3 separate regions of the Homo sapiens genome follow, and all the other regions are linked to region 2. Evidence: promoter capture Hi-C in human tissues and cell types (Jung and others, 2019). All regions are on one chromosome and are shown on one strand. The core of a region is centred on a gene start or on the middle of the fragment in contact, and the rest is flanking DNA. Distances in the headings are between cores, read along the strand shown. Region 1 has its middle 23 kb from the start of OR2S2. Region 2 holds the start of FAM221B (family with sequence similarity 221 member B). Region 3 holds the start of SPAAR (small regulatory polypeptide of amino acid response).

Region 1 (3,472 bases), core at 452-2,951, 110 kb after region 2:
TTACTTTAAGAATTCTTATTATTCTTAAAGTAAAATTCTTAAAATCTCAAAGACACATAAAAACACAGAGAATAGTATAATGGGCTCCCGGGTACCTGTTCTCCAGCTTCAACAAACTCGCTTTATCTGTACTTCCATCCACTCATCCCCTACCTTATCAAGCTAATTCCAGGAGTATTGTTTAATTTGCAAATATTTCAGGATGTATCTAAAAGATAAAGGCTCTTATTAAAAACATAACCACAATACCATTCTTAGGCCCCCAAACATTTCACAATAAGTCTGTAGTGTAATTAACTCTCAAGTCAGTGTCTAAATTCCTGTAGAGTTTTTTCATTTGATTGTATTTTTTTTTTAATTGTAACTAGCCATTTAAGCTTCCAAAGATCCGAGTGGTAGAGAGGGGTAGTTCGAAACCAAGATAAATGGAATTTGTACAAATCGGACTGCAGTTAAATTTCATGTTCTTGGAACAATCTTTTCAACAGTCTTTTCCTTGCCTGTCTGTTCCAGCCTGTCTGCTCACCTGTAAAAGCAACAAGAGTAGGTAGGAAAACAATTACTCCTTTGCAGTTGAGACACTCCAAAGATTAAGCCTGTTAATTATTTGTACTCTCTGTTCTGGATTTGGCTTCTTCTTACCCTCCTCCAGGAAAATTGAGTAATGCCTAGTTTTGAGATGGGTAAGAGGATTGTCTCTTGAATGTACGTGGAACTATTAACAGCAACTTGAAAATGAAAAGAATTATGACTGAAAAAGAAAGAAAAAAAATGAGTAAGAGATACTGGAGGACATTGTAAGATGGATCTAAGGATAAGGATAAAATAACAAGATTAGCCAGGGAATTTCTAGGACAACAGTTGGAAAATCATACCCTGGGTAAAGGATGTGAAAGAAGAGATTTGGGGCAGGAATTTTACCAACAATCTAAGATAAAACTTTCCTATCTTGTAATCATTATTGTTTTATGTTAAATTAGAGTTGCCAGATAAAACACAGGATGCTTAGTAAAATCTGAATTTCAGATAAACAATGAATACTTTTTAAACTATAGCTATGACACAAAGTATATAGACATGCTTATACTAAAAAAAGTATTGTTTGGCCGGGAGCGGTGGCTCACTCTTGTAATCCTAGCACTTTGGGAGGCCGAGGTGGGTGGATTACAAGGTCAGGAATTTGAGATCAGCCTGGCCAATATGGTGAAACCCCGTCTCTACTAAAATTACAAAAATTAGCTGGGCATGGTGGTGGGCGCCTGTAGTCCCAGGTACTCGGGAGGCTGAGGCAGGAGAATCACTTGAACCTGGGAAGCAGAGGTTGCAGTGAGCCAAGATCGTGCCACCGCACTCCAGCCTGGGTGACAGAGCGAGATTCCGCCTCAAAAAAAAAAGTATTGTTTATCTGAAATTGAAATTAAATTTGAGCAACCTGTATTCTTATTTGCTGAATCTGGCAAGTTCATATTAAATGCATGGTAGCCAGGCACGGTGACTTATGCCTGTAATCCCAGCACTTTGGGAGGCCGAGGCAGGCAGATCACCTGAAGTCAGGAGTTCAAGACCAGCCTGACCAACATGGTGAAACCTCATCTCTACAAAAATACAAAAAATTAGCCAGGCGTGATGGCGAGTGCCTGTAATCCCAGCCACCTGGGAGGCTGAGGCAGGAGAATCACTTGAACCTGCGTGGCAGAGGTTGCAGTGAGCTGAGATCGCGCCATTGCACTCCAGCTTGAGAGACAGAGTGAGACTCTATCTGAAAACAAACAAACAAACAAACAAATAAATACATAAATAAATAATAAAAAATTTAAAAAAATATTAAATGCATGGTGATTCAACTTGTAAAACCGAGGACTATTTGGCCTTTAGGCTCTTAGTTTTCTTTCTTGGGATATGATTGAGTTTTCCTTATTCAGTCTACTTTTCTTATATATCTATCTAACATTATAGCATTATATTTTAAAAATTGGCCCAGTTTACATTAGCACCAAGTATAAGTGTATAGTCATGCACTGCACAATGATATTTTGGTCAGTATGTATGTTTTGGTCAATGATGTGTGGTCTGCATATATGACAATGGTCCATAGTTTATGATTCCATATTTTTACTGTACCTTTTCTATGTTTAGATACACAAATACTTACCATTGTGTTACAATTGCCTACAGTGTCCAGTACAGTAACACACTGGACAGGTTTCTAGCTTAGCAGCCATAGGCCATGCCATATAGCTTAGGTATATATTAGGCTAGGTTCGTGCAAGTCCAGTCTGTGATGTTCCCACAATGATGAAATCGTCTAATGACGCATTTCTCAGAATGCATCTCAGTCTAAACAACGCATGACTCTACTTATTTTCTTCTACACTTAGCAATATTAGGTCTGATTAGTCTTTTCATTTTTGCTAACCTGCAGGGCAAAATGTTTGAGAGCTATTAGTTTAGAGCACTTCTTAAATGAGGCAAACTTTTCTCTTGTGATTCCTATAATCAAGGTTTTATTCAAAAATAATTTTAAATTTTATTCTATATTATAGGAATGTGTACAATGAAATGTAATGATGTATAATACATTGGCTGTTTTTGAATTCCAACCATGGATTTCCCAGCTACTGGCAGTGAAACTGATCTTTTCTGTACGTACTCAAGTCAACACTCAAGAATTTCAACTTACCTTTAGCGAAAGCAAATATTTATATTTAAAAAGAAAACATTTGAATTCAGAATTCATTAAGATAAAAAAGTTAGCAAACTACAGATGCCTTGTTAGTTGACAGTCCTAATGGCGACGTCTAGGTCAGATAACTTATATTGACTTAAAACAGCATTGTCTTGACTTTCCACAGTCGTATTTGTGATTATGGAAATAATTTTAAAAAGACTAGTCTCTTTAATTTACATTTTCACAAAACGCTGTTGAAAGAGCAAATGTCTGCTCAGTTGTTTTTCCTTTGCTTAAAAAAAAAAAAAGTGCCAGGAATCCCACCCCACCCTGCTGCTGGGTAACAGTCAATCATTTATTATTCCTGGATCAAACACAAGCATTCATGCCTATGAAAACGTTTGGCAATGAATGGGATCTTGGTCTCTACTAAAAACAAAAAATGGCTAAAAGGAGACTTCAATTTATGTTCAAATTCTATGGCTGAATTCCTATAATTCCTAACTGGTGAAAATATTGGCAAGCTACAAGATTTTACTTAGAGTCAGATTTACTTCTTTGGTGTATGCCCAGAGGTGTTATTGAAAGCTATTTGTGGCCAGCTTTCCAGGAGACCAAATGGGCCTTAAATGGAATGAATATTGGCCCTGCAGTACAGTGCACAAGGAGAAGGAGGAGAATTGGACACTTTTATTAAAAAAAAAACAAAACTCATTGGTTATACTTAACTAATTTCTACATAGAAGTTTTAGTATTTGGCAAAGCAAAAAGTCATATCTCAGAATCACCAAACTTACTATATCT
Region 2 (3,801 bases), core at 357-2,856:
TGAGTGTTTCCACAGACAGCAAAACTGAACTTTGGGAATTATCCTAGTCTTTTCCTTTTCCCTTAGACTCCATCTTCAAATAGGCACCAATAACTCTATTTCCTATCTTCTAAATATTCCCCAAATGCATTCTCTCCTCTCCCTTCCAATTTTATTCAAGTTCTCATCATCTTCAGCCTTTGTGTAATAACTTTGCCCCTCTACTTCCATCCACAGCATTTTAATCCATTCACCCATTCTTTCATGGATTTATGTAACTTATACTTTTACAATGAGCCTAATCTGATGCTTTTACTGACCCGCTGTGCTAAGCTCTAGATTGAGTTGAGTCTAGGAGAGAGACCGATTAACCAACAATGGCAATACAAATAAATTGATGTTGTTCTGGGGTGAGTCTAGGATACGGTGGGGAGGGGGATATACCTAATTTATCCTGCAAGGATGTAGTCCTCCTTCCTGACCCAATCAGGATCTTTCTAAAGTGCAAGCCCAACAACTGGCACTTTGTGGCTTAAAAACATTCCATGACTCAGTCTAAAGGATTAAGTCCAAATTTCTTGGCCCTGGCATTCAAGGCCTGTCATCATTTTCAACACAGCCTGAGGATTCCTGCCTTAACTTTCCGTGCTCCCTACTTTACCCCCATGTTCCAGAGACGCTAGATATATCACTCCTTAAATGCATCAGAGCCTTTTTGAAGGGGATGTTTGGGAAGGGAATTAGGGGCAGAGGTAGGATTACAGGGAGGAAGATGACCAGAGTCAGCTAGAGAGAAAAGGGGCCTAAGAGTGGAGAACCAGAAGATGGGAGGTGAGGAAGGGGAAAGAGAAGGGGAGGAGGAAATTGGGTGGAGGAGGAGAGTAAGGATGAAAAGTACAGAATGTGGGCCAGGCATGGTGGCTCATGCCAGTAATCCCAGAATTTGGGAGGCCAAGGCGGGTGGATCACTTGAGGTCAGGAGTTCGAGACCAGCCTGGCCAACATGGTGAAACCCAGTCTCTACTAAAAATACAAAAATTAGCTGGGCATGGTGGCAGGCGCCTGTAGTCCCAGCTACTGGGGAGGCTGAAGCAAGCAAATCACTTGAACCTGGGAGGCGGAGGTTGCAGTGAGCCCAGATCGCACCACTGCACTCCAGCCTGGGGGACAGAGCGAGACTCTGTCTCAAACAACAACAACAACAACAACAACAACAACAACAACAACAACTACTACTACTACTACTACTACTACTACTACTACTACTACTACTACAACAATGTGAAGGGACTGAGGGGTGGGAGAAAGACAGATGTCTTTGAGGGAAGAGGGCAAGGGCCGTTGGAGAAACCACCTACCCTCTGGGCTTTGGCTTGGTTGTTACAAGTCCTTAGGTCAAGACCTTGACTTAGGATGGCAGGGGGAGGTGTTGATCCTCAGGGAGGAAAGGCTCTTGGTTGTGGATGTGCCTCAGCTGCAGGTGCTGAGTGTTGAAATGCCTTGCCTGAAAGTCTGCTATCTGGGAAGGGGACTTGGATATCTGCAGAACTTCGCAAAGGAGCTCTGGCATGACCTGGGGAAGTGGGTAGGGACAAGGGGTCTAGGGCCAATGAGGGAGGGTCTTGACTGAAGCCTCCGGAACCCGGGCCAGGAGAGTAGGCGCCGGTCACCAGGGCAACCGGAACGCCTAGTAGTCTCCGTGGCAACGGCGGTCTGGTCACCTCCCCGGTGGGTAAGGTCTCCTGAGGGGCTTGCATTGGGCCTCGAGGGGGCGAGCCCAGAGGGTTTACTTCTGAAAAGTGGGGTGTGTGTTGCGGGATCTCTGTGAGCGAGTGTTTGGGTAGGATCTGCGGAGATCTGTGCGTACGTCCGGGGGAGTCTGGGATTGTGAGGATAGGGTTCCTTTGAGACATCTGTGGGGCGGTCGTTGGGGGCTGTGAGGATCTGAGGGGACCTCGGGCTCTGTGCTTGGGGTGAGAAAGGCAGGGTCTCGGGTAGCTGAGGCGGGGGCGGAGTCTGTGTGTCCTCGAAGCCCAGCAGGACTAAGTTGGGGACCAATAGAGTAGGGCGGGGGCGGGCTTTACTGACAGGGACCAATCGAGCCGGCCGGGGGGCGGGGCGTCACGCCGACGTCAAGTCGAGGCCGCCGCCGCGGGGCCTGGTTATCGCCGGTTCAGCGCAGCCCGGAGTCGCCCAGGCCTGAACTCCTACCCAGGTCCCCGGCCCCCGCCCCGGGCCCGCGAGGACACCGGAGGCCACCCCCCGGGGGTGGGGAGCGGAGCCGCGGGCCAGCTCTGCGAGCGCCCCGCGCTGGCCTGTCCGGCCCCGCCCCCGCCCCGGGCCATGGCCCAGCCCTTGTCCCGGCCCCTCGTCCTATCCCAATCCCCGCCTTGGCCCCCAGCCCCGCCCTCGCCCCGCTTCCCACATCGGCCCCAGCCCCTGCCTGGGTCCCCATCCAGGACCCCCTTCCAGTCTCTGCCCCTGGCCTGGCCCCCATCCCGGCCTCGGCCCTCGTTCCACCCCCTGTCACAAATCCCAGCCCAGGCCCTGTCCCAGCCCCATTCCCAGTGTTTGCTTAAGGCCCTGGCTCAACCCCGTCCCTTGCTGCAGTCCCCATCACAGCCCTTCCTTCCATCCCACTCCCTGCCCTTGTTCAAGCCCCAGTGTCCAGCCCAGCCCAACCCATTATCTCAGCCTTTGCCCTCATCTCTGTGTTTACCCAAGTCTCTCCCTCTAGTCCCCCCTATCTCTCATACTCTGCCCCTCTCCCAGCCTAGACTCAAGTCTGGGTTTCAGCTGCCGCCAGCCCTATTGCTGCTGTTGCTGTTCTCTGTCCTTGGCCCAGGGGCTGGTGAGTGCAGAAGCAGGGAAGATTGAGGCAGGAATGGGGTTCCGGCAGGGAGGGGTGGGCTGGAGAGATTCAGGAGAGGTGGGACCTGGGGAACTAGATCATTGGGGAGCAAGTGGGAGAAATAGAGAGTAGAGAGGTCTTACACAACAGGGATTGGCAGGGTCAAAAGAGTGGTAATTAATTGGGTTTGAGGCTCAGCAGGTGGCTTACAGTTTCTAGCACAGAGACTCCAAGATTTTTTCTGGTGTCTGTCCTGACCCCACTTTGACTCTTGCTTTTCCAGGGAAATGTTGTGGGCTTTGCTCCTGCTCACAAAGTTTGATGGGGGAGAGACAGTCCCACACCAGAAGCCCCTAGTGTAGTGTGGGAATATATAGCCCAAACCTTTGAGATATTGGGCATGCATTCAAACGGCATGAAGAAGAGTTTTAAAGATAATATGTAGCAAATAGATGAATATGGATTAGTTGCCATTATAATGAGTTTTCTTCTTGTAATGATTCTTGTTCCAAAGAAGATTGATTTGCCTAGGAATAATTCCTGATACTTTTAGAGCAGGGCTGAAACTCGGAGGCTATTTTACAGATGGGGAAACTGAGGCTCAGGGAGGGAGCAATTTGTCCAAAGTCAGAGAGCTTGTGAATGGCAGTGTGCTGGGGCTAGAAAAAAGGTTTCCTAATTCCTATTTCATACTAGTGTGTTTTTTTTTATCCACTGCAATGTATACTTAATAGAAAAATAGACCCAAGTGGGGAAAGGCTCAAAGCATAACCTCCCTTCTCCCCGGTCTGCCCACAAGGGTGCTTTATCCACAAACTGTTCCTTATTTGCCAGGCGTCAGCCAAGGGCCACCCTCCGGTGGGGAAGTGACTTGGACAGAAGAGAGAGAGGTCCAATTTTTTAATGGTTGGAATGTGGGAGGAGGAGGGGGTGTCCTGGTCTAGGGGATGTGCCATGAAGATGGCTCCATC
Region 3 (3,695 bases), core at 959-3,458, 83 kb after region 2:
AGTCTCCTTTCTGGAAGTGGTGGGGGTCTCAGGAGGTGCTGGGTGTGAAAGGGCTCTCACCTGGCAGACTAACTCAGTTGCCTGGGCCTAGCTTATTCCCCTGACCTCCTGGCAGGGAGGAGGGTGGAAAAGGCCTGGGGTGCGCATGGCGGGACGGGATAACTGCTGAGCGGGGGTTGGAGGGCTGCAGTGTGGGTCCTGGGCCCTCGCTCACAATTGGAGGAAAGAATTCAGGAAGTGCTCACAGCTGCTCAGACATCTCGGAGCCAAGTTCCAACCAGGACAGAGGCTGCAGCACCCAGGGAGGAACGCCGTGGTCCCTGGGACGGCCACCAGGCCAGGAGGCTGCAGCACCAGGTACAGCCAGGGCTGGCCTTTGGGGAGCCCAGGGTAAATCTTAATAGTTCAAGAATGTGAGCAACGGGCTAAGCAGGCAGCAAAGAGGGTGGGTGAGGCCGGCATCTAAGAAGGCTCTTCCGGGACCTCCGGGTAAAGAGCCCCACGGTCATGGACAGGGCAGGGATTCCCGGGGAAGCACCTGATACTCTATCTAAACTGCATGATCCCAGCGCCATGCAGAAAAGGACGCCAAATGCAACCTGCCCCTGCCTCCAGCCCCCACTAAAGGCCCTGGCACCTGGGGTGACCCGTGAGTGTCCCCTGCCTTGCCCAGAGCTGGCGCATGCCTTCCTCCCTCCTCATGTCCCTGCCCCCAGCACAGGGCCAGGGGCTGGGGAGGCAGCAGATAGGCCAATTGAAGGACTGGCCCAAGGTCCCTCCTGGGGAGGAGCCGGGCTCCTCCTGCATCCATAGTAGGGGGAGTATTTTGTCTTTGGTCTGGGCGTAACTTGCTCTTGAAATCTGTAGGCGTCACCGGAGGGCCAGCGCTGGCTAGGCTGTCTCTGTGCAACGTCTTCTGACCCCTCCTCTCCACCTTCTCTGTGTCCAGGGAATCTGTGCTCACGTCTTCCAGGACAGTGCTTCTTCTAGAAGCTGACATGGAGCTGACCACAGCTCTTGGAGGCATGGCCTGAGGCTTAGAAAATAGACAGAGATCATCTGAGATTTCAGCAGTGGGGCCACGTGGCAGCGCCCGAAGGCCTGGAGCAGGAGCGACCCAGGGACTCAGAGCAGCATCTTCTTAGGAGACGGAAGGAGAGCCGCCGGAGGAGCACGGGGCACCTGCGATCGCGAAGAGCCTCCTGTTCTGGATGGGAGCGAAGGCTCCGAGAGGACCTAAGGTTGCTCAGTGGGCCATGGAAACGGCAGTGATTGGGGTGGTGGTGGTGCTGTTCGTGGTGACTGTGGCCATCACCTGCGTCCTCTGCTGCTTCAGCTGTGACTCAAGGGCCCAGGATCCTCAGGGGGGTCCTGGCCGCAGCTTCACGGTGGCCACGTTTCGCCAGGAAGCTTCTCTCTTCACGGGGCCTGTTCGCCATGCCCAGCCAGTGCCAAGTGCCCAGGACTTCTGGACCTTCATGTGACGCCCGAGTCCCCAGGATTTGCTGTGCTGATGGGTCAGACTCACCCGCTCCTCAGCAAGCCTTCCCTGGCCTTCCCCTCCTCCCAGGGCCTTCTCCCTGTCCTTCCCCTCCAGTAACCTGTGAACTTCCCGTCTCCTCCCATTCCAGCCTTCTGTGCCCTCCAGCCTCAGGGATCCTTGTTATTGGGACAGCCCAGCTGGGGTTGACCCACAGGATGGGGCTTAGGAGAGCTCTGAGGAGTGAGTGAACAGACAGCGCCGGAGTGCACGGTGGGCCGGCTCTGCTGATCTACACCAGGAACTGAAATATCACTGGAATTTATTGTAAACGGTGTGCCTATGATGCTGGTTCTGTTGCCACCTGGGCACGCAGCACCCTCAAGTGGACATTTCTAGAAACCGCTTCTTACTTGCTCCTAATTGATTACTTTTGCACATTGCACAGAACCCAACCTCGAGGCCTGCTCCCTGCCAGTTGCCTGAAATCAGCCCTGAAATTCTGAAACCAAAGAGCTGCTTCCTGAGAACAAGTTATTTACCTTAGAATTGAAAATGTATATCCTTTTATGGGCCTTTCCAAATCTGATTAGAAAAACCACAAAAGGAAACAGAAGAGAAAATAAGAGCCACAGAAAGTACAATATGTTTTATTAACAGGAAAGCCAGAAATAAGATATTTTAAACATATTTTTAATGAGACTTTATTGCTATATTCCAACAGGTCACTCCTATTCTTAGAGAATGTGAATGACTTGTGTCACTTCGGAGTGACAGAAAAATCAGGAACTGAAAGATAATTCCAGACAAGTTAAAATGTTATGTTACATTCAAAGCTCTTGTTTTCATCACAAATAAGGGGATATTCAGTTTTTATTAACAGAAAACCCATTCTCCCATGGCCATGGAATAAATGCCATGCTATATTTAAGGAGTTTGGTTTGAAGGGTGCAAAATTGTGAGCCTCCTGGCTCTTATGTCTGTATCCAGCCCTGAATAGATGGCTCTCCCAGGACCTGTTTGTTGAGGGGGGCAGGACTGAGCTTTAGGGGGGCTCTGGCCTCTAAGGGTGTCCAGACAGGCTGCCCTTGCCATGTGGCTGCCATGGGAAGGGCTTTCAGAGTGGCTTGGAGCTGGAGAGGTGCACGCGGGGAGGGGGAAGTGGTGGGGAGAGTGAGGCTGACGGAGAGGGATGGGGAGGAGCATGGTGGGCGAGGCTCAGCCCAGGTCCAGGAGCTCCTGGGACCATGTCCTGGACACTCCTGACACCAGCCCTCGACGCAGGGCCTTCAGAGATGCACAGAGAAGGGAACGGCACATGTGGGGAGGCCCTGGAGACGGAGGGAAGAGAACTTTTGAGGGCTGTGTTCTCTAAAAGCGAACAGTGAGACAAAGTTCGGGTGCAAGATATTTGTCAGGGATCAACACCTACAAAGGGGAGAAGGAAGAAGCAGGATTGGGCAGAGGAAGAAGTCAAACCGTGATGCAGGTCCTTCATATCCCCACCTTTGCTCCGTCTCTGAGTCCCTCTCCCCTCTCCCAGGGTCTGACCTCAGCCAGGGCAGCTCTCTGCAGCTGAGGCAGGTCTTGAAGCCCTTCCTATTTTATTATTTTTATTTTATTTTATTTTATTTTATTTTATTTTAGGAGATGGGATCTCACTCTGCCACCTGGGCCAGAGTGCAGTCGTGTGATCATAGGTCACTGCAGCCTCAAATTCCAGGGCTCAGTCAATCCTCCCACCTCCGCCTCCTGAGTGGCTGGGACTATAGGTGCATGCCACCGTGCCTAGCTAATTAAAAAATCCTTTTCTTGTAGAGATGGGATTTCACTATGTTTCCAAACCTGGTCTTGAACTCTCCTGGCCTCAAGTGATCCTCCCACCTTGGCCTCCCAAAATGTTGGGATTACAGGTGTGAGCCATTGCATTTGGCTGAAGTCCTTCCTTTGAAGGGGACCTGGGCAGCACATCTCCACAGAAACTCTGTAGGGTCCTGTTCTTGGAAGAGCCTAGACTGGTCAGAGGTGGGTGAATATGTCCAGACACAAAGAAAAACCTGGGCACAGGAGATCTATGAGAGGAGAGACGGCCGTGCAGGATCTGGAAGGGAGAAGAGTGGGCCTCAGTCTCCCTCTCTCCTCAGCCAGAGTCAGCTCTGCTCCAGCTCAGGCACCCTTCACCAGGAGCCAGGCCCAGGGCTCTGCTCTTGTACTG

What was found. Contacts are between HindIII fragments. The study calls those that stand out against the background at their distance.
Region 1: a contact is called between a fragment that was not itself captured here and the fragment with the promoter of FAM221B in region 2, in 6 of the 25 tissues and cell types used here (H1 embryonic stem cells, IMR-90 fibroblasts, aorta and 3 more).
Region 3: a fragment that was not itself captured here is called in contact with the fragment with the promoter of FAM221B in region 2 in 6 of the 25 tissues and cell types used here (H1 embryonic stem cells, aorta, bladder and 3 more).

Annotation. Positions count from the first base shown.
Region 1 is chr9:35,933,164-35,936,635 of GRCh38, forward strand. No RefSeq gene overlaps it. Among named protein-coding and RNA genes, the nearest start is that of OR2S2, 23 kb to the right of the region's middle. The HindIII fragment of the contact is 7,970 bases long and covers 1-3,472 here.
Region 2 is chr9:35,827,126-35,830,926 of GRCh38, forward strand. It overlaps FAM221B (family with sequence similarity 221 member B), which reads right to left and starts at 1,607. Exons shown (of 7, transcript NM_001012446.4): 1 at 1,338-1,607. TMEM8B (transmembrane protein 8B) reads left to right here and starts at 2,103. Exons shown (of 13, transcript NM_001042590.4): 1 at 2,103-2,830. The coding sequence starts at 2,323. RefSeq lists a silencer at 1,960-2,409 and an enhancer at 2,695-3,195. The HindIII fragment of the contact is 23,285 bases long and covers 1-3,801 here.
Region 3 is chr9:35,909,208-35,912,902 of GRCh38, forward strand. SPAAR (small regulatory polypeptide of amino acid response) reads left to right here and starts at 283. Exons shown (of 2, transcript NM_001348107.3): 1 at 283-357; 2 at 950-2,479. The coding sequence starts at 1,257. The coding sequence ends at 1,484. RefSeq lists an enhancer at 955-1,835 and a silencer at 1,839-1,918. The HindIII fragment of the contact is 7,213 bases long and covers 1-3,695 here.